Regions from separate parts of the Homo sapiens genome. Here regions 1, 2, 3, 4, 5 and 7 are each linked to region 6. The links are contacts of gene promoters, found by promoter capture Hi-C in blood cells and fetal thymus (Javierre and others, 2016). All regions are on one chromosome and are shown on one strand. The core of a region is centred on a gene start or on the middle of the fragment in contact, and the rest is flanking DNA. Distances in the headings are between cores, read along the strand shown. Region 1 overlaps PRKAR2B (protein kinase cAMP-dependent type II regulatory subunit beta). Region 2 has its middle 66 kb from the start of NAMPT. Region 3 overlaps NAMPT (nicotinamide phosphoribosyltransferase). Region 4 has its middle 95 kb from the start of NAMPT-AS1. Region 5 has its middle 57 kb from the start of SYPL1. Region 6 holds the start of CCDC71L (coiled-coil domain containing 71 like). Region 7 has its middle 84 kb from the start of SYPL1.

What was found. The method cuts DNA at HindIII sites, captures the fragments that hold promoters and counts their contacts. A CHiCAGO score of 5 or more calls a contact.
Region 1: a contact is called between a fragment that was not itself captured here and the fragment with the promoter of CCDC71L in region 6, in 13 of 17 cell types (M2 macrophages, M1 macrophages, M0 macrophages and 10 more). The highest score is 11.9, in M2 macrophages.
Region 2: a contact is called between a fragment that was not itself captured here and the fragment with the promoter of CCDC71L in region 6, in 2 of 17 cell types (neutrophils and endothelial precursors). The highest score is 8.0, in neutrophils.
Region 3: a fragment that was not itself captured here is called in contact with the fragment with the promoter of CCDC71L in region 6 in 1 of 17 cell types (M1 macrophages); the score reaches 5.8 in M1 macrophages.
Region 4: a contact is called between a fragment that was not itself captured here and the fragment with the promoter of CCDC71L in region 6, in 1 of 17 cell types (neutrophils). The highest score is 6.0, in neutrophils.
Region 5: a fragment that was not itself captured here is called in contact with the fragment with the promoter of CCDC71L in region 6 in 7 of 17 cell types (M1 macrophages, M0 macrophages, endothelial precursors and 4 more); the score reaches 11.7 in M1 macrophages.
Region 7: a fragment that was not itself captured here is called in contact with the fragment with the promoter of CCDC71L in region 6 in 2 of 17 cell types (neutrophils and monocytes); the score reaches 5.7 in neutrophils.

Annotation. Positions count from the first base shown.
Region 1 is chr7:107,150,622-107,153,321 of GRCh38, forward strand. It overlaps PRKAR2B (protein kinase cAMP-dependent type II regulatory subunit beta), which reads left to right. Exons shown (of 11, transcript NM_002736.3): 7 at 301-402; 8 at 2,556-2,630. Among named protein-coding and RNA genes, the nearest start is that of HBP1, 17 kb to the right of the region's middle. RefSeq lists an enhancer at 1,256-2,455. The HindIII fragment of the contact is 2,140 bases long and covers 364-2,503 here.
Region 2 is chr7:106,217,503-106,220,389 of GRCh38, forward strand. No RefSeq gene overlaps it. Among named protein-coding and RNA genes, the nearest start is that of NAMPT, 66 kb to the right of the region's middle. The HindIII fragment of the contact is 1,792 bases long and covers 440-2,231 here.
Region 3 is chr7:106,252,792-106,255,551 of GRCh38, forward strand. It overlaps NAMPT (nicotinamide phosphoribosyltransferase), which reads right to left. Exons shown (of 11, transcript NM_005746.3): 9 at 1,573-1,713; 10 at 226-360. Among named protein-coding and RNA genes, the nearest start is that of NAMPT, 31 kb to the right of the region's middle. The HindIII fragment of the contact is 3,841 bases long and covers 1-2,760 here.
Region 4 is chr7:106,379,358-106,382,057 of GRCh38, forward strand. No RefSeq gene overlaps it. Among named protein-coding and RNA genes, the nearest start is that of NAMPT-AS1, 95 kb to the left of the region's middle. The HindIII fragment of the contact is 167 bases long and covers 1,251-1,417 here.
Region 5 is chr7:106,168,169-106,170,990 of GRCh38, forward strand. No RefSeq gene overlaps it. Among named protein-coding and RNA genes, the nearest start is that of SYPL1, 57 kb to the left of the region's middle. The HindIII fragment of the contact is 1,930 bases long and covers 540-2,469 here.
Region 6 is chr7:106,659,580-106,662,501 of GRCh38, forward strand. It overlaps CCDC71L (coiled-coil domain containing 71 like), which reads right to left and starts at 1,579. Exons shown (of 1, transcript NM_175884.6): 1 at 1-1,579. The coding sequence starts at 1,317. The coding sequence ends at 610. RefSeq lists an enhancer at 353-402 and a silencer at 753-1,022. The HindIII fragment of the contact is 5,408 bases long and covers 44-2,922 here.
Region 7 is chr7:106,194,375-106,197,277 of GRCh38, forward strand. No RefSeq gene overlaps it. Among named protein-coding and RNA genes, the nearest start is that of SYPL1, 84 kb to the left of the region's middle. The HindIII fragment of the contact is 2,236 bases long and covers 166-2,401 here.

The DNA.
Region 1 (2,700 bases), core at 184-2,683, 490 kb after region 6:
AGCGCCTCCTTGTGGGCAGAACCCAACATATTGGTCAGATTTCTGTTATGTATAAAAAGTCAACAGATGCTTTCTTTAAAAAAAAAAAAAAAAAAAAAAAAGAAAACAGTATTTTATGTGGTTCTGTATTATATTTTGTGCTTGACGAAATAAAAATATGAAATGAGTTGCATTAAAAGTATAATGATGTTAATCTTTTATTTCAGAATCTTCAATCATTGTTTCTTGTAGGGAATAAAATAAAACTATTTGTATAGCTTTACCCCCATAAAATTTACCCTTTAACTGTTCTGCCTGTAGGACAGGGTAACCTTCAGGAGAATAATTGTGAAAAACAATGCCAAAAAGAGAAAAATGTATGAAAGCTTTATTGAGTCACTGCCATTCCTTAAATCTTTGGAGGTAAGTATATGTTTATGCTTTTATTTTATTTTGCTTTAAAAGTTTCTGTTTTGCTAGGAATATTTAGTTCTATAGAAAAATTTCTTTGAATAAAAAAAAATCTATCCATGTTTTTATTTGAAAAGATTAAATGGTAGTGCTAATTTTTATAACTCATTGTTTCTTCTGCTATCTATAATTTCATTTGTTTTGTTATTTGAAAGTAATACATTCCTACCCAGCATCTATAGCAAATTTATATGTGGTCTTTATCTGATAGCAGACTTAATATAATCACATAGATGTAGACAAGAGCCACTAGTTGTAACTTTACAGTGAGGCGTTCTCTAGATATAGAATGTCCTCTCTGGCCTCTTCCTCTCAGTCATCTTTGCTGTTTATTCCTCTTTTCTTCTCCTCTTAAAACTGGCATTCCAGGCCTCTGTCCTTGGCCTCTTCTCTTTTCAGGATACACTTATTCACTTGGTGAACATGTCGAATCCCATGGCCTTAAATACAGATGTCCCTTGACTTACTATGGGGTTACCTTACGAATAAACCCATTGTGAGTTGAAAATATCATAAATAGAAAATGTATTTAATACACCTAAACTATGGAACATTCGAGCTCAGCCTAGCCTACCTGAAACATGCTTAGGACACTCACATCAGCCTACAGCTGGGAACAGTCACCTGGCAGCACAGTGCACTGGAGAGCATGGGTTGTTCACCTCATTGTGGTGAGGCTGGCTGGGCGTTGTGGCTCTCTGCCTGGCGTTGTACTGCATATCGCTAGCCTGGGAGAAGATCGAAACTCAAAATTAGAAGTATAGTTTCTATCGCTTTCAAACAACTGTAAGGTTGAAAAATCATTAATCAAGCCACTGTAAGTCAGGGACCACCTGTACTGTCCATATATTGATGCTTCTTAAAATTGATATCACTGGGCAAGGCCCCTCCCTTGAAGGTCAGACTTACTTATCCAACTGCAAATGTAAGATTTCCTCTCAGATGTCTAATAGACATCTCAAACCTAGTATGTCCCAAATCTACTCCTTTTCTCTTTCCCCGCAGATGGCAACATATCCTTCCAGTGTCTCAGGCCAAAAACCTTCGAGTTAGCACTGACTCATATGAACCACCATCACCTCTTGCCTGGCTAATTGCAGAGTCATCTTTTAAAATCCCTGGTTGTGGCACTGCTCTATTTAAGCTCCTCCTCACATGGCCTCTAAGGCTCTGCACAGACTGTCCCATTCCCCCACCCATTTTCCCCAACCTCATTTCCTACTGCTCCACACTCATCATCTCTCTGTTGACACATCAGCTTCTTGCCACTCCTCAAACACACCTGTCCCACACCCACTTCGGGGTCTTTGTACTTGCCGTCTGTCTGGAATGTCTTCCTACACAGCTGCAGGGCTCCTTCATTTCTCAGCCCAGAGGTCTTCTCAATGAGACCAGCTCTTAGGTTTTTATCTTTGAAGGTAGAGACTTATGAGAGAGAGTAGGTTGTTGTTACCCTAAAAATTCAGCTTCATTTTCCATACTTCATCATTAAATTAAATGCTTTTCTATTTCACTGTCATATTTGAAGTATTTTGAGAGTAATTAAAGACAGGCATATATATGTACCCACAACATCTTATAAAATGGCAAGTGTCAAAACAGCAGTGCTTCTCCTTTTGAATGTCTCTGTTGGATTATCAGCTTACATCTGGTAAAAATTTTGTCCACATCACACAGTGCGTGGTAGACAGCTGATCTTTTCCAGCAGCATATTTCTTTAAATAAGAGTAGGTCAGGGATTGGAAATCTGGTGCCTTCAGAGCTAGGCAGGTAACACAGAGAAGAAAACCAAGCCAGGAAGGGACTTTGGCAGATTGGAGAACATGTATTTCATTAAAGAAACAGCTGCTATCCCACCATAGTTTTATTGTTGCCATGTGGAAATATGGGCTATGTGATGCTGATTTTTCAAGAGAAGCTGGAGATTGAATTTTTATGAAAAATTATTTTAAAATGCTGGCTGGTAATTAATACAACAAACACATATACAACCTACACACTGCTCGATTTATTTGGCCTATAGGCTACCAGTTTTTTACTCCCGAACTAGATAAGCTTACCCAGTTAATTTGTTTCTATTTAATATTGTTTTTCTTTCTTTGTAGTTTTCTGAACGCCTGAAAGTAGTAGATGTGATAGGCACCAAAGTATACAACGATGGAGAACAAATCATTGCTCAGGTATGATATTTTGAAATGTAATTCAGTTTAGGGTTATATTCCAAAAGGTTCCTGTAGTGGTAGATCTTGA
Region 2 (2,887 bases), core at 86-2,585, 440 kb before region 6:
GATTAGGATTAACCTCTACTCATCCTTTGCATACCTCTCGCTCAGAACCTCAACACCTCTTTCTCCTTGCAAGATTGTTCTTAGTGTCCTTGGTAGCCCAGTGTCCCCTGGTTAAAAATGGCCTTAGGGAAAGAATTTGCGGAAAAGATGGCTATCTGAAGAAGATGACCACATCTCCTTTTTGGCTTTGTCTATTCTGTTCAACAGCTCCCATTCTGATTTTTTCCATAGGGTTTAGCAGATCTGGCATCAGCCTGCCACTCTTGGTTAGGGTTAAGTTTGAAGAGGCAGTGTAACAGTGGAGTGGCAGGATGGGATGGTAGTGAAGGCTGTGGCCTTTAGAGCCAGACTGCCCGAGTAAGGTACCTAGCCTTCTTGGTCATCAATTTACTTATCTGTGAAATGGGCAACCATAATCGTTCATGACTGCAATATTGAAAGCTTTGAAACTAAGATTTTTAGTAACTCACTTGAGGCAACACCTGTCCTGAGTTAATCTGAAACTGTTTGGAAGGAAAACTTGACATGAAACTACTTATAATCATTATTTATTCCATTTTTTAAATATTAGTGCATTTTGTTTGATTAGGAGACAGTCATAGACCCTTCCAGGGGAGTTATATAATTTATAATGTAATTTATAATGGGCCATACTTCTTAAAATCTGAAAAATTTTGAATTCCAAAACACTGGGCTTCAAGAATTTGGATAAAGGACTGTGAACCATTACTGTCCTTCCTAAAACATGGCAGCTAAAATGAATGTGAGCTGGCAGTTGTGGTTAATGTGCCAGCTCAAAGTTAAATGGGGAGTGAGAAGGTGTCTGGATGTCATGGAGTCATTCTCCAAACTTGCATTTCACCCTTGTGGGTGAGATGGTAAAATGTGGCTCAAATGATACAGTAGGAGGATTTTCCAGGCCTCACAGGAGTGTTTTTTGGGGGGAGATCTTACGGTGCTCCAGCTCTGGCCATTCTCCAGCTAATGGATTCAGAGGTGATTTCTGATAAATGGGGGTTCTTTTGGTTTCAGGTAAGCAACAGAAGTCCACATAAACTAGCTCAAGCTAGAGGATTATCAACGAAGCCAAAGTCAAGAGGCAGCTGGGCCTTAGGGATGTTCTGGAACTAGGAATGAAAGCACCGTGGACAGTTAAGGCTTCCCTCACTCTCTTTTTCCTGCTTGTATGCAAGTCCATCCATCCATCCATCTGGCTGCAGAGCAGCTTTCTCTGCTTACTAATCCACTTGGCAAAAACCAGCTACTGTCAACAGCTTCTGAGCTGTCTCTCCTGCATGAATTCCAAGCTCCCCAGGAGTAGGACATGGGCTTGGCCCATTGGGCTAAGGAGATGCGGTGGTGTGTGGGGTCAGGTCACCCTGCCCAAACATGGCTTCTCCCTCAGTAACTTTGTGGATGGAGAGGAATGGGCAGCTACTAGTAAAATGTGGGAAGGTTGTGTGGGGAAACTGTGTGAAGGTTAGAGAGCAGAAGAGTTGGATTGAGCAGACCCTGGTTCACACCAAACCAAAAACAAATAGTAAAGTGATGAGCAGGTAGGACAGGCTATAAGCAGAGGTGTCTCTGATCCTGTATCTTGAAGGAAAATCACACTCACCTTCACTACCACATCTGTTTGTACCAATGGCGGTTTTTTAAAAAAGGCAAGGTGAGAAACTGATCAGTTCAGGAAGGCGCTATCTGGTTCTTGTTGGGGTAGGATGGGGGAAGGTATAGAAAGGAAGATAGAGCAACAGCACTAGAGAACAAAGGGATGGTTGAAGTGTTTCACCTCCCCAGTCTATCAGTGCACAGGCTGTGCCTGGTTTCCTTCCACACAGCTGTGTCTCAACATCAGAACAAAGGATTTCCTCTGGGCCCTTTTGTACAGGTCGACCCAAGATCCTTCCTTGCCTATCAGCTCCTGGGGGCTATGACCACTTTAGATGTGGCCCCGCCTCATTCTTCCTGCTGAGAGACAAAATCAGGAGAAGTCCAGTTCCCAGGAAGACAGTAGGAGGAAGATTAGGAGGAAGGAGTCCCTGCTGTCCTTCCCATGGTAGAAAAACCATGCCTTCCTCCCCAAGATTTCACTTAATTGCTACTCCTTTAACTGTGTAGTTACCTTGCACTTGGCATGTTTACTGGGTGGGACAAAAATCAAGGGTCTGCTTGAGGACTTTTGGAGAGGAGACAAATCCAAATACCTTCTGACTTGGGAGCCACTTACAAGCTTAGGTCCAATCTGTATGATTGGAGAAAGTAGCCCAGGACTATCTTTTCATATAGATGCAGAGGCGCAGAACAAATAAAGCCCCATTCTTTGATAATTTACCTGGGGTTCAGAAAGTTTATTCTGAGCTTAATTCCATAAGATCTTCTCCAAATATATGTTGCAGTCACTGGCTCCTTCTTGGCATTTGAGCTAACATGGAACATTTTCCTCTCTAGCCCTCCTAGTTCTGTGATTTAGATTGACCATGAGGGCAAGGTAATAGAGGAGGAAGGTGAGGAAAGGACCAGAAATATGATGTGTCTGCAGACAGCAGGAGTATCTAGTCTTGTAAGCTGTTGCCTCCCTGATGCAGCCCTAGATTCCCTAGAAAGGACCTGCTCCTGCCCCCACCAGTTGCCATGGCAGCAGGTTCCAAGTAACTCCAGCCCAAAGTTTTACACTTAAGAGGCATGCAACCAACAGGTAAGTAATGACAAGAAGGGCTGTGTGTGCAGTTTGGGTAAGATCAGGCCCTGGTAGAAAGAGCTGTGGGCTGGAGGTCTGACAACCTGGGTTTGAGTCATGGCTCTGCATGGTGAAAACTTGGGCAAGTCACTCACTCCTCCTGAACTTCAATTTTCATATCTATAAAATAAGTTAAGATTGATGATC
Region 3 (2,760 bases), core at 136-2,635, 410 kb before region 6:
ATACTTACGTAATATTTCTCCCTATGTATACACAGGCCCCGTGTTTATGACGTAGACACTTGTTTTGTATCTTATTTTGGTAGGCCAGGTCAGCAATTGGACATTTTATAATAAAATATAATACTTTGTCTTCCACAAAAACAATAACATAAAAACCTCCTTTCTTATTAATTTGGTGAGCCAACCTACTATTGCTTAAAAAAACCAATCAGCATAGATACATACCTGACCATATTCCTCAAGGTCTCCTTTTCCTTCCTCCAGTGTAACAAAATTCCCTGCTGGCGTCCTATGTAAAGATAATCGGCCCTTTTTGGACCTTTTGTTGGGATCAGCAACTGGGTCCTTGAAGACGTTAATCTGAAATCCAAATTAAGAAAGTTAGACAAGTAGAAGACTAATCATCAGAAATGTCTAAACACTCCCTTACAAAAAAGCACATACATAATTTACATTTAAGTTTTAAGCACTTAATAGGTATAACTGAACCAATCCACATCTGGCTTTCAGAAACATAACACTTTAGCCTGTTTTGAAGGATAGTCGTTTGTAATAAAGAAAAAGTATGACATCTTGGATATCCTTTTTGCCACTGAAGAACACCTAATACTCCATTTGTAGGAAGTCTGTGAGCATTCTAACATGTGACCCTTAAGGTATCTCTTTATATTACAAACTGCCTTTAAACTGACAGTAAGCACAGCATGTACATGCTGTTGAAGAAAAGCCCAACTATACCAACTACGCCAAAACCACACACACAATCTTTGGAGAGGGAACAAGAGTATTACTAAGGTAAAGGCTTTCCTATTTCATAACGTATCCCTCTTTTGGTACTTTTTACTTTTGCCTTGTTATTGTCAGAAGCAAAAGTCTTAGAGAACCTGAAGACAGCAGAGTGTTTCTACATCAGAAAGGTAGGCAGCAAAGAAACAGAAACAAGTGGCAGTGGAACAAGCAGCAACAAATGAGTCAATCCCAGAACTTTCCAAAGAAAGATCAAAGAGTGAAGCAGGGAATCAACTCAGGTGTTCTTAATTCTTAGCATCCTCCTGCCTCTGTCCCTTGCTCTATAGAATCTCCAGCTCTCAAGACGTTACAAAGAAGCAAGGGGGGTTGTTGTTCACTTGCCTAGCTGTTCTATGGCTACTAGAACATGACTGTGGTATAACAATCCAAACCTCATATTCTACCTTCCTGTAACAGTTTGGTCAGTGATTATATACTTGCTTGTCTTTAATATATGATGGCTAGGTAAGCTGACATTCCTACTCAAATATTACTTTTTGATCTAAAGGTAAAAACGGCAGTGGGAAATGACTGACCTGTATTATCTCTCTTAAATAATCTTTTTCCTTATTGTTCTTCCTTTTTCCAAATCTCTGTCTCCTTAGGTCTGTTATTACCTAATATCTCCCTTCTTTCCTTGTTTCTGAGTTAAGGTCAGTAGTACCCAACAACATATTAACAGTCCACGGCCACATCAATCTTTGACAAATGCACTCAATAACCACATTCTACCTAGATACATAAGGAAGGTAGTAACACAGAAGTAATTAAAAGGTGACATACCCCAAGGCCATTAGTTACAACATAGCTACACTTGAAGGAACAATTCAAGAGATCTCTTGTCAACTTCTGTAGCAAACCTCCACCAGAACCGAAGGCAATATTTTCAATACTCCACATTTTTTGTTTCATGCCTTCTACAATCTAGAAGATTAAAACAAAACAAAACCAAACCAAACCTTAATTTGGAAGAGAATGGAGATTATTTTCAAGGGACAATATTGATGAATGAAGCATCCAAGACTGTTTTATAACACGGTCAATAAATAATTATAGCCCGCATTTTGTTTTTAAAGACCCACCCACCCCCAAAAGATGGATATGTGTGGAAGGAGAGGATTTCATGCATAGTTCCTGAATCTGCATTGCTGTCACTGTGGTTCTGGTAGGATTCGGGGAGTGAAGGAAATGAGAGAAAGTGAGAAAAAACTAGCTATAAATATCTAAGATTACTTGAGTCAACTTCTCTCATTCACCTCGTTAAGTTATTGTCCAGATCTCAGCAACACAAGCAATGGGAGCCAATTTACTAGACTCTAGGAATGACTGTAATCATCACCAATAAGTCACAATACACTGTATAATTACATGTCATATGTAATGGAACATGTAAGAATCAAAGATATTGGTGGCAAAAGAGTATAAAATACTTCTCCTATATAACAGTTGGTATACTGGTAGAGTCATTTTATTCTGGCTGATATACCAGTGCCAGAAACAAAATTATGCACAGGTGCTGTGGGTGTTAAGATTACTGTATCATTTTTGGGAGAATGATTAGTTATAAACCAGCTAGAGAGACCTGTATGAACAGTTCTAAAAGAGTTCTTTCAAGGGACATACAACTTTAAAGATGTGTTTATTACCAATGTCATTTGTATTTCTTTCACCAAAGTCAAGTTTATTTACCTAGCATCTGCCTTAATATATTCAATCACTTTGATGATAGAATGTGGCAAGTGAAGTTTGGTAACCATTTATTTCATGAGAATAGTCAAACAGAAAGCAACTGGAAAGGCTGACTCTGTTTTAAACAGAACTTTCAGAAGTTATTAGAAAATCATAAGTGTAACAGCCTTATGTGTATCAAAGTTACCACATTCTCACCAAATAGTCTCAAATTGACTTTTTTAATAGTCTCGAATTGACTTTCTTTGTTTTCAACACTGCAAAGGAAAAAACCCAACAAAT
Region 4 (2,700 bases), core at 84-2,583, 280 kb before region 6:
TAAGTTTAGCATTCTAGGACTGTGCATGTGAGATGCTCTGTGTAGAGAGGGGGTTATAGGAATTTGATTCCTGCCATATCTGAATTTACAAACCTAAAAGTGAATACACGGATATGGACACACTGCCATGGGTTCCACCAGCTCTGGAGCTAGCCTCTACAAGGGATGACCGAAAAGGGGCTGGGGATTAGGAGTTAATAGCTTTCCAAGCCCTGGTGGATGTGAAACTATAATCAGGGCACCTGGCTTATGGTCATTAGCATCTGCCTTTACACCAAGGCCCTGCTGCCCGGGCGCAGATGTTAAAGACCTTTCCGGGAGCTCCCCATGCCTCCCCCATCACGGATCTGTGTAACCCTGCTGACAAAACATGATGCAGGCTCCCCACTTTAGGCCATATGCTTGGGAAAAACATCCTTCTGGCAGAGACTCCTGGGGGAAAGGAAAGGCATAACTCTTTGATCTTGATCCCTAACAAAGAATTTATCTTGGGATCTTTGAAATCTTGGAAAAAAAACAAAAACAAAAACCCTGTACTTTCAAAGCTTTTCTTGTGTGATGTATTATAAAACAGGGGGACAAATATTGTCCTCTGGGGTAAATATTCCTTTGTTCTGGAAAGACACTACAATGGATATTTAGTTATTAAAAGGAAAAGTAAATATTCTCAAATACAGAAATTTAGACCCTGCCTTTCCGAGGGGTTCCGGTGTCATGCACAAAAACATAAAAGGCTGTTTTCATCGTGGATGGTGTTGCAGTTCTGCAAATTGTTTTCTACAGGAAAATGTTTAAAGATTTATTCTGCAGAGCCTATGAAAATTGTTTTGCTTTCTTGAAAAATATGTGGATGTCCTTTTTGGAGTGGAGGCTGGAAGCTCTCGGGGGTGAGTGTGGGGCACTGGAGTCCTATCCTTACTCAGGCTGGTGAAGAGATCACCAGGGGGCCCAGATTTAAAGTGGGGCTTGTTTGAAGCAGCACTATTTGCGACATTCTATACTAACTCAGACTTTGGAAAAGGACTGATGTGTAATTTACTGCCTCCTAGTTCATTGTCCAAGGTAAGACCAACTCTCCCTGAATGGGAAGGACATTTCAGCTGTTAATCATGCACAAAGGGGAGAAAACAGAGAGAACCTGGGGAATATTGAGACCAGGATTGCAGACAAGAACCCTATGGGCAAGAGAAAAACTGGAGGCCTCTTCCCCTCTCTCTGGTGGGAGGAAATGCAGAGTCTAGGACTAGTGAAGCTTGCTGGGAGCTGGGCTGAGAGGTGCCCAATAAAGGTTGTACGTGGAGAGGCTCGGCCTGTAAACTTTATGATTCCACATTTCTAGTATCAGTTTTGACTTTCTCAAAGTGATCATTCCTGTGTGCCATTTCCAAATCTTTACTAAAGTCCTGTTACTCATTCAAGCTTAGGTTTAGCCATGCTATTGAGGGAATTAGAGGCCTCAGTGATCACAAGAACAGCTCACAGGACAACTCTGGGAGGGACTGGCAGCAAAATAAATGAGATCTGAGGAGGAGCAGAAGCTAAAGATATGGATGGAAGGAATGTTGCAGGCACAACTGTGGCTGCAGATTAATGGCGTAGCTTCGTGAGATAACCCTTGTCCCCAGATATACTAGAGCGGATAGGGTCTTCAAAGAGGGAAGCCAGGACCTACTATATATAAGTTAGTGGGGGACACCAAGTTTGCAAACATAGGTTACATTTAGTAAGGTTTATCCTTTGCATAGAACGAGAAAGGGCAAAGGCTTGCGGGGCCCTGTTCTTTGAAGGAAGAAAGGGACTCAGAGGGCTAAGTACACTGTGGGAAAGAAAGAATGAGTGTATGGAGAGGGGTAATAAAAATGCTTTTTTTGGGGGGTGGGGTAGCAAACAGCAATATGTAGGAGACAGAGCATCAGAGACAAGCAACTTGTCCTAACTTACCACACATGGGGTGCAGTCACTTAGCTTTCCATAGACTTTAAGTTCCCACAGTGAGCAGTTTGTTTTTTGAGGATGTTTCTGGTGTGCCCCTCTGTGTTCCCTCCATGTGCACATCTGCCACCACGATGCAGCAGTTTGACATCCCTTCTCTCCAGTCTTTGCTTTCTTATCAGATCTCTCCAGGGACTCTACTTTCAGCAACTGTGATCACAGCATCTGATGGTCAAAATAGGCAAGTGCTTCTGTGGAGCTGTGTTCTTTGGTCTAATGACTCAAATCTAGATTTGATGGCGTGGGGAAAATGTGCTCAGGGAACTTCACTACAATGATGTATCTCAACAGGTACAGCAGTGGGAATGGTGGGCTCCTCCGCTGCATATATCTTTTCCAATTTTGTGTATTAGGAACTCAGATCCTACAGACATATCTGTAACTACTCGTCTATAACTCCTGGGCCGTTTTCCTTGTGTTTTCAGTGACAGTATTAGACTGGCACACATAGGTGCTTATACACATGTTGGACAAATGAGTTCATGACATCTATGAATAGCTACAGGAATCATTTTCAAAGACAATCAGCCAGTCATATTGTCCACAAAGGGTTTTGTGCTTTTTCCAGATGTGAGAGGCAGTGTGGGAGATATCATTTAGATGCTGAAAAATTGGAATTTGGAGACATTTGGAGATTTCTGAAGTTCTGCAGAATTTTACAAATCAAGAGCATCGTTTAAAAGAGATGTGTAATCATCACATAGTACT
Region 5 (2,822 bases), core at 255-2,754, 490 kb before region 6:
TTGGAAATGTCCTCCTGACCGGTGTTAGTCGGGGGGTCACTTCCTCATGCTATGCTGAAGGCATGCGACCTCCCCTCCAGGAGTCAGTGCTTAGCACAAGTCTCCTTCTAAAAGGTCAGTGCCTTTTGAGGAGTTTCCCTCTGTCTGTGTGGAAGAGGGTGTAGGGGGAGTTTTTGGAGATACCGAACAGCTACTTTAGGTAGTCTCCCTCTCTCAGGCCCCTCCCATGAAGAGCTCCATGCAGTGAAGCCAGTCCAGGTTTTGTGGTTGATATGTTTTGGCTCTATGTCCCCACCCAAATCTCATGTTCAATTGTAATTCTCAGTGTTAGAGGTGGGGCCGGGTGGGAGGTGATGGGATCATGGGGGTGTTTCTTATGAATGGTTTAGCACCATCCTCTTGGTACTGTCGTAATGATAGTGAGTTCTTGTAGTATCTGGTTGTTTAAAGGTATGTGGCACCTCCTGCCTTGCTCTCTCTTGCTCCTGCTTCTGTCATGAGAAATGCCAGCCCCCCCTTCACCTTCTGCCATGATCAGAAGCTTCCTGAGGCCTCCCCAGAAGCAGAAACCTCTATGCTTCCTGTACAGCCTGCAGAACCATGAGCCAATTAAACCACTTTTCTTATAAATTACCCAGTCTCAAGTATTTCTTTATAGCAATGCGATAATGGACTATTAGTCTGGTGGGGCCTGAAGGTTGACGTAATTGTGTGTATGTGAGTGGTCTGTAAGCGAGAGAGCACAAAATTTGGAATAAAAACTAGATACAAAAAGGAACATTTATTTAGAATGAGAAAGATGTCATCAGAAATTAAATTTTTTAAGCTAACGAATGCTAGAAATGTCACAAAATTGGGTTGCCTTTCTTGGTGGCTAGGAGGAATGGACTTGAAAGAGAGGGATGGCGGTTGGAGAATTAGCAATGCCAGAGAAAGGTGAGAGTTCTAGAGGCCCCATGAGTGAGCCAGGGGCCTAAGAGTGGCTGTGAGAAGAACAAGTTCCCTTCAGCTTTTGGAGCACTGGTCCTCAACCGGCAGGAGCATCAGCTGGAAACTGGTTCAAAATGCAGATTCTAGGTCCTCACCCCAGACCAATTGAATCAGAAACTCAGGGATGGGGTCCAGCCATCTGTTTCAACAAGCCCCCAGATGATTTGGAAGCATACTCAAGTTTGACAACCCCTGATGGTAGAGGAGAGTGGAACCCTGTTGTGCATGTGAGCATCTCCTATTAAAAATATAATTACTGGCCAGGCGTGGTGGCTGATACCTGTAATCTCAACACTTTGGGAGGCCAAGGTGGGAGGATCACTTAAGCCCAGGAGTGCAAGATCAGCCTGGGCAGCATAGACCCTGTTTCTACAAAAAAGAAAAAAAATTAGCTGGATATGGTGGGGCACACCTGTGGTCCCAGCTACTCAGGAGACTGAGGTGGGAGAATGGCTTGAGCCTAGGAGGTCGAGGCTACAGCAAGCCGAGATCGTGCCACTGCACTCGAGCCTGGGCAACAGAATGAGACCTTGTCTCAAAAGAGTGGCTGAATTTTTTTTTTTAAATAATGTATTTTATGAGGTGAGTGTAGTGGTGCCCTCAGCTGAGGTAGGAGGCTGAGGTAGGAGAATCGTTTGAGCCCAGGAGTTTGTGGCTGCAATGTGCTGTGATTGCACCCATGAATAGCCACTGCACTCTAGCCTGGGCAATGTAGTAAGAGCCGGTGTTTAAAAATATATCTAGATACACACACACACACACACACACACACACACACACATATTTAGGCAATACACACACAGATGATATCTTTCATAAAGCAAACCAACTCATACAGCTTTTATGTCATGGTTGAGTGTCTGAGAGATAAGTGATACCATCCACCGTGATTGGGTGCTAAAGAGAATACATTTTAAGGCTGGGTGTAGAAGGGAAAATTCTCAAATCTCAGTATTCTCCACAGTATAGTTTATTAGCCAGAGACACATGGTAGGTTGTTTTTCTGCTAAATTTATGCAAGTGATTGTTAAAATTTTGCATCATTTACAAACAACCAAAACCACAACAACATCGAATTCAGGGTAGAAATTTATTTTATTGTTTGCCATTAACTGAGCTAACTTATTTTTCTTTTAACTTTCCATTTTTTCCAGCTTTTCCTTCTGTGTTCATGGTTGGGGTGTTAATAGCATGTCTAAACTAATTGCACTCCTGATGGTCTAATTCTAGTTACTGTCATTTTTGGCAGGAAAATTTTGAGTTTGGCATGCTCTCACACTGCACACAGGCATGCTAAATTAGCTGAGAAGAATCTGAGAATGCTAGATTTTTATAACCAGGCAGAATAAGTCCAAAAATACCATCAAGGATTGTACAGAACAGTTAAGAATTCTGCTTGGTAGGCACTGGGCATAGAGCTGCCAAAACAACAAAACAAAACAATAAAACCTAAAAAAGAATTGCATCCACTCCAGGGAAAGCTTGTCTGATGAACTCTCTTGCCACTCTGGTTTTATTGGTGTGGACCTTCAGGATGCGTATTAACGTTTTAGTGAAGAGGTCTTTGGGCTACACATGACATGACAGAAACCCAACTTGAACTGATTCTTACAAAGAGAGAATATATCACCTCTCATAACTGAGAAGACTAGGAGGAATCAGGCTTCAGGCATGGCTGCCTCCAGGGGCTCAAATGATACTGTGTTAGGCAGTCTCTCAAATGGCTCTCAATGATCCTGGCCTCCTGGTACTCACGCCCTGTGTAATCCCCTCCCCTTGAGTGTAGTTGGACCTAAGATCTGCTTCTAACAAATAGAATACAATAAAAATGA
Region 6 (2,922 bases), core at 329-2,828:
AACAGTCACAAGCTTGAACCTCTTAAAAAATATCCTCGATCAAAGCTTTGGAATCCAGTAAAAATTAGGAAACGAGTGGGCTTCAGAATACCCTGAGCACAAACTAGTGCAACACCACATGTTCGAACTTCTGTCCACAAAGAGGGGTGACAGTGAAATAGAAAAAGGGGGAGATAAAGAACAAGTAAATTCTGGCTTTATTACACAAGCACGAAACCAAATTCCTTTGGAAAAATAATGTCTTCGGAGGACTTCCAGACCAGTGAGGTAGAGTCCAACAGTGAGAAAACGGATCTGCCCCTAAGGTCCTGGAGACGTCTCAATCGGTGGTCAGGAAGAAAGGGACCTCCCCTGCGGGTCCAGCTGTCCCCTCCCTCCGCAGGCCGGGTACGGGAGGCAGCAGAGGGCACACCTGCCCCAGCGTCCAAGACGACCGCGCCGCGGCCCGGGACAGGGACAACCATCCGGCAACTTCTTCGCGCGTAAAGTGCATTGGGGGCCGGGGTCCTGGCCGGATCTGTAAACACTCGACTGACACTTGTTCATTCCTCCGGGCGGAAGGCCTGTCCCAAGGTCGGGGCCGGCAGGAGGCGCCCTGGAGGCCGCACCTCATGCCCGGGGCACCGGGAAGCGGCGGAGCCTCACCATGGGTTCCAGGTTCACTCGCAGGACCTGGCGCGCCCTGCGCCGCGCTGCCGCCAGGCTGCGCTCGCCCCACACGTCGCTGCCGACGCGGATGGTGGGGAAGGTGGTCAGCGTCGGGGTGGCCGCCCTCCAGATCTCCTCCAAGGTGCGGCCCCCGAAGCAGGGCCCGGGGGCCACGGGCTTGGCCGGGCAGCTCTCCTCGGGGGGCGGCGGCGGTGGGGGTGGCGGCCGGGGCTTCCTCCTGCGGGCAGCGGCCGCCCGGGCTCCGCGGCGCCTCCTCCTGGCCGCTGCGCGCGGAACCGGCCGGCGCGCCTGGCCGCGGGCTGTAGGGGGCCCCGGGGGGTCGGGTACCAGGGCCCGGCAGGAGGAGTAGCCGTAGACGTCCTTGCTGCGCAGGATGTGCGGGGAGAACTGGTGCTTGAGGCTGCAGAGGAAGCTCCAGAGCTCCGCGTCCGAGCTCATGAACTCCGTGCTGCGGGGCATGAAGAGCTTGAAGGCGTCGCCCAGCGCCTTGGTGCTGTCAGCCAGCGACAGTTGCGACCGCGAGTACACCACCTTCTCCTCCCGCGCCTCCAACCCAGCCCCGTCTTCTGCCCTAAAGTCGCCGCCCCGGGCGGCCGTGGCCGGGGCGACCGGGCGCCGGCGCCGCCGCCTCTTCATACTGCGCCGCATCGAAGGCCGCTCCGGGCCACTCACGCTCGCCGGGTCCCACTACTGCCGCCGCCGTCCCAGTCCGCGTTGGCTCCGCGGCGGCGGCTGCTGCTGGCGTCTCTCGCTACTTTTCTCGCCTCCGCCGCCGCCCCTCCCCCTCCGAGGGCGGAGGACGCGGGCGAATATCCTGCTGCCCGGTACAAGATGGCGGCCGGCGCCCACCCCTGGGCTTTGTCATTGGACGGCGCCTCGCCCCCCTGGTTTCTCTTTCTTCTCCTCTCTTGCCTCTTTTCGCCGGCTGCCTTTCTTTAAATGTGCCCGCCTCAGGCCCCTCCCACCGCAGCCCCGACTCCACCCATTGGGTGCTCTCAGAAGAGGGGCGGGGACTGATGGGGGAGAGGCCAGTTCCTGGAAGATGGTGCTGGGGTGGGTGATGGCCTTTGAACGTAAGTCAACGGTTGGGTGGATCTAGGAGGGCTGCCACGTCTAGAGTAAGAGGGTGGATGTTGGCTACACCATGGGAAGAGTGACTCTTAGAGTGAGGGGGTGTGCAGTTGTGGATTGAGCTGGGAGCTCTACCAGTGTGGATAACAAAGGGAGATTTCCCTGAAGGATGTTCCTGGTATCATCACAGCTAGGGAATTTGGGTTTAAGTCTAGGGGAAATGGGCCTTTCGCAATTCCCATCCACCCTCTCAAAGGCCTCTTCTGGCATCTTCATTCAAAACTCTTCCCTGTCTTGACCCCAGCCCATCTCAAGAAGCCAGTAGTAATCCAGAATCATTCAGGTAATGTGCGTGGCTGGCAGCTGAGAGATTTTAGTCTCCCTCTGGACACTGGAGCCATCTTCATATTTAAGAGAGACCCTGCTTATCCAGAAAGCAAAACATGTCATACCCTATAAAACTAAATACTCTTTGCTCAAGTTGATCAAAGATCTATTACAATAAAGCCATTCTGTGAAAAGAAAATATAGTTTTAAATACACAGTTCTTTATGGATGCCAATTCGTTTTTCATTTAGTTTTAAAATGTCAAAGCCACCCCTATCATTTAGAAAGGATGCATCATCGCAGACAACAGATAAGGTTTCGTTGAAAAACACAAATTGTTCAAAACACATTACCTTTTGTATTGGGAGGAGAGTAGTGGACATCCTTTAGTCATCTTTTCTGTCCTCTATACCTAACTCAGTTCCTGTCAGGTAGTGGACACTCAATGTGTTTGCCGAATGAATCAATGAAATACCACCGATTATCCCAAATAGAGTCAGAAATGTTGAAACTGCTTAGAACAGGACAATTAGATATTTTATATTGCAATTTTCACAGAACTCCTTTAAATTTCTTAAGGTTAAAAGAAAAAATCTCCTGACACTTAGAACTTTGAGGTGGGCATGTGGATTTTACCCAGGAAACATCTTATTTTGCAGTAGTGAACAAATAAAGTATAGGAGTTTTGTGATTTACATGTAGTTGCTAATGGTTTCCTCAAATATTTGACCTGAAAGAGACCTAGTTCATTCTCCTTATTTAACAGGTGAGGAAATCTGTACCATAGAGGTTCAGTAACACAGCTGGCTGATAGCAGAACTGGGATTCTAAATCCTTCGATTTCTAATCTAGTGA
Region 7 (2,903 bases), core at 34-2,533, 470 kb before region 6:
CTGCATGAAGCATGGCCTCTGTGCAGACAAACACAGTGGTGGATTCTGAGCACCTCAGCTCAGCTGTCAGGCAGTTATTCTCCCTGCAATCATTGATCTGAAAGGTCTATTTTTATGGCTGCCACAGGTAGTGTCATGCGTGGACAGCACAGGTAGCTGCAACAAAGCTTGTATTCGGGGGAAACCAGAGGTCATGCATCCGTATATGCTAACATATCTCCTTCCTCTTCTCTTTCTTGCACCATAAGGGAGCAAGACTTTTGTTTAATTGTTGCCCTCCCTTCTGGCTCAATTCTGAAAGAAGTAACAGATTGAATCAGTAACACTTGCAGATAAACACATTATCCAAATTCTTTAATTCTATGACGGATGGAAGGGTTCTGGGACAACACGAGGGCATATGGAATTAAGGAAAAGGGCACAGATCTGAAGGACTGAGGGCCACACTGGACACTCTTTCCAATTATGCCACAGCCCGCCTGCTGGAAGTGGAGCCAAACCAGCATTCAGACTCTGTAGTGCATAGCAGGTGAAATGTCCTTCAAATGAAGTGTCTGTCCAGCGCCACTTTTTTCTAAATCTGGAATATTTTGAGGGAGGGTGTATTTTTCTGAGTGGTTTGAGAAATTAAATGAATATTGCCTAGGTGGCTGGAATATTTGAGTGAGGAAGTGGGGTTGGGGGAGGAAACGATCCCAAGATTTTTCAGATGGCGATCCATGAGCCACTTGGAAAAGAATCCCAAAAACTTAAAAATATTAATTTCCTGTTTTCCCTGACCCATGTCCCCTCACACAAGATCAACTGATTTAGAACTTCCGGGGATGAGACCCAGGAATCAGTAATTTTACCAGTGTTTCTGGTGATTCTTGTGAACACTAACATTGGAGAACCACGGGTTCAAAGCTAATTGTAGTAGGACAAAGGACATAAAGATCATAGCTAGGGCAGTTTAGTTTCTAACACATAATTGAGGTCTTTCTATATCTTCTCTCCTGAACTGTAGAAACCAACTGCCTCCAACTTCCAGCTATGTCCTTGATATCCCAAACTCAGTGTGTACATAGCCAAACACCTAATCACTGACCTGGTCCTTGCTAAGATGCTTCTCCACCAGCCTTCCCCATTACAGTATTGACAGCTGTGTCCTTTCCCATTTGCTCAGACCAGGCTCATCTGCCCCCACCCTACGCCACCCCTCACACTTCATAGCATCCAGTTAGCTCAGTTTCACAATATAGCCAGAATCTTCTTAACACTTCTCTCCACCTCCATTGCTCCCTTCCTGTTCTGATTGCCATAATCACTCATTTGACTTTCGACAAGAGCCTCCTGACAGGTCTGCCTGCCTCAGTCTTTGCAATTCGCCCTGCCCCCACCTTGACCCTTGGCTGAAAACCACTCAATGGCCCCCTACTTCTCTTCAAGTAGAAACCAAAGTCCTTACAGTGGCTTAGTTAGGACCCCAACTATGCCCTGACCTCATCTTCTATTCCCTCATTTCTTCTGCTCTAGCCATGCTCGCCTCCCTGCTATCCTGGAGTACGTGAAGCATGGCCTTGCCCCAGGACCTTTGCACTGGCTGCCCTTTCTGCCTGGACCCCTCTTCCCTCGGATCTCTGGGTAACTCTTTCCCTCACCTCCTTTGCTTAAGTGTTACCTTCTCCGTGAGGCCTGCTATGACCTCCCCTATTTAAACTGCAACCCTTCCTGTTCTGAATTCCCTTTACCTGTCTTGATTTTTTCTGCATAGCACAGCGTATTCTAATATGCTATATAACTTACTTATTATGTTTATTTCTTACCTCTCCCCAACAGAAGGTGAGCTCTAAATGGACAGGGATTTTTGTTTTATTCACTGCTAGACCCCAGGGTCTGGAACAGTGCCTGGCATATGGAAGATATTCAGTAAATGTTTGCTAAATGAGTGACTGAATTGCATAGAGTGGAATGAGAGGAAGCACATGTTTTTATGAAATGATTCCTTATAGAGAATTTTCCATATCCAGATCAAAAGAGGCCTGTGAGTTTAGATCATCCACAGAAAGATACAAATCACTTCGGAAGAGTGAGCAATAAACTTTAATTCAGTGTTTACTGTGTGCTAGAAACGACGCTAAACATTTTCACCAGCATTATCTCTTTAAATCATTCCAACAACCAACCCTATCATGGGAGTCTACTGTTCTTATTTTACAAATGGGAGAGTTGAGGCCCAGAGAGGTTAAGGAACTTGTCCAGGGTTGCACAGCTAAGTGTCAGACTCAGAATGTGACCTAATGCTGTGAGTCCAAAGTCTGAGTAGACTGCTGCTTCAGAGTGTGGCCCTTCCTAGTGATACTTCTGTTTAAGTGTCTGTTTACTTAACCTCTATTGGTCCCTTTAAAAATCAAAGTTTACAAGCTTGAAGCTGTGGCTCATACACTTTGTGCTTAAAAATGTTTATTTTGATTATGCTAATATTGCTTCATTGTTTATTTAGCTGAGTTTCTGTGACACTTGTAGGAACATGTGCTCTCACCTCTGTGTACTTTTTTTTGTTGTTTTTGAGACAGGATCTGGCTCTGTCACCCAGGCTGGGATGCAGTGGTGTGAACACAGCTCAGTGCAACCAGGCTCAAGTGATCCTCCCAACTCAGCCTCCCAAGGAGCTGGGACTACAGATGCATGCCACCATACCTGGCTAATTTTTTGTATTTTTTTGTACAGATGGGATTTTACCATGTTCCCAAGGCTGGTCTTGAACTCCTGAGCTCAAGCGATCTGCCCGCCTTGGCCTCTCAAAGTACTGGGATTACAGGTGTGAGCCACCATGCCCGGCCCTGTGCATTTCTGAGATTTTTAGAATCTGCTGCTTTGCTGGCTTTACAAGTTCTTAACGTTGGTGGAAGGAATCTGTAACT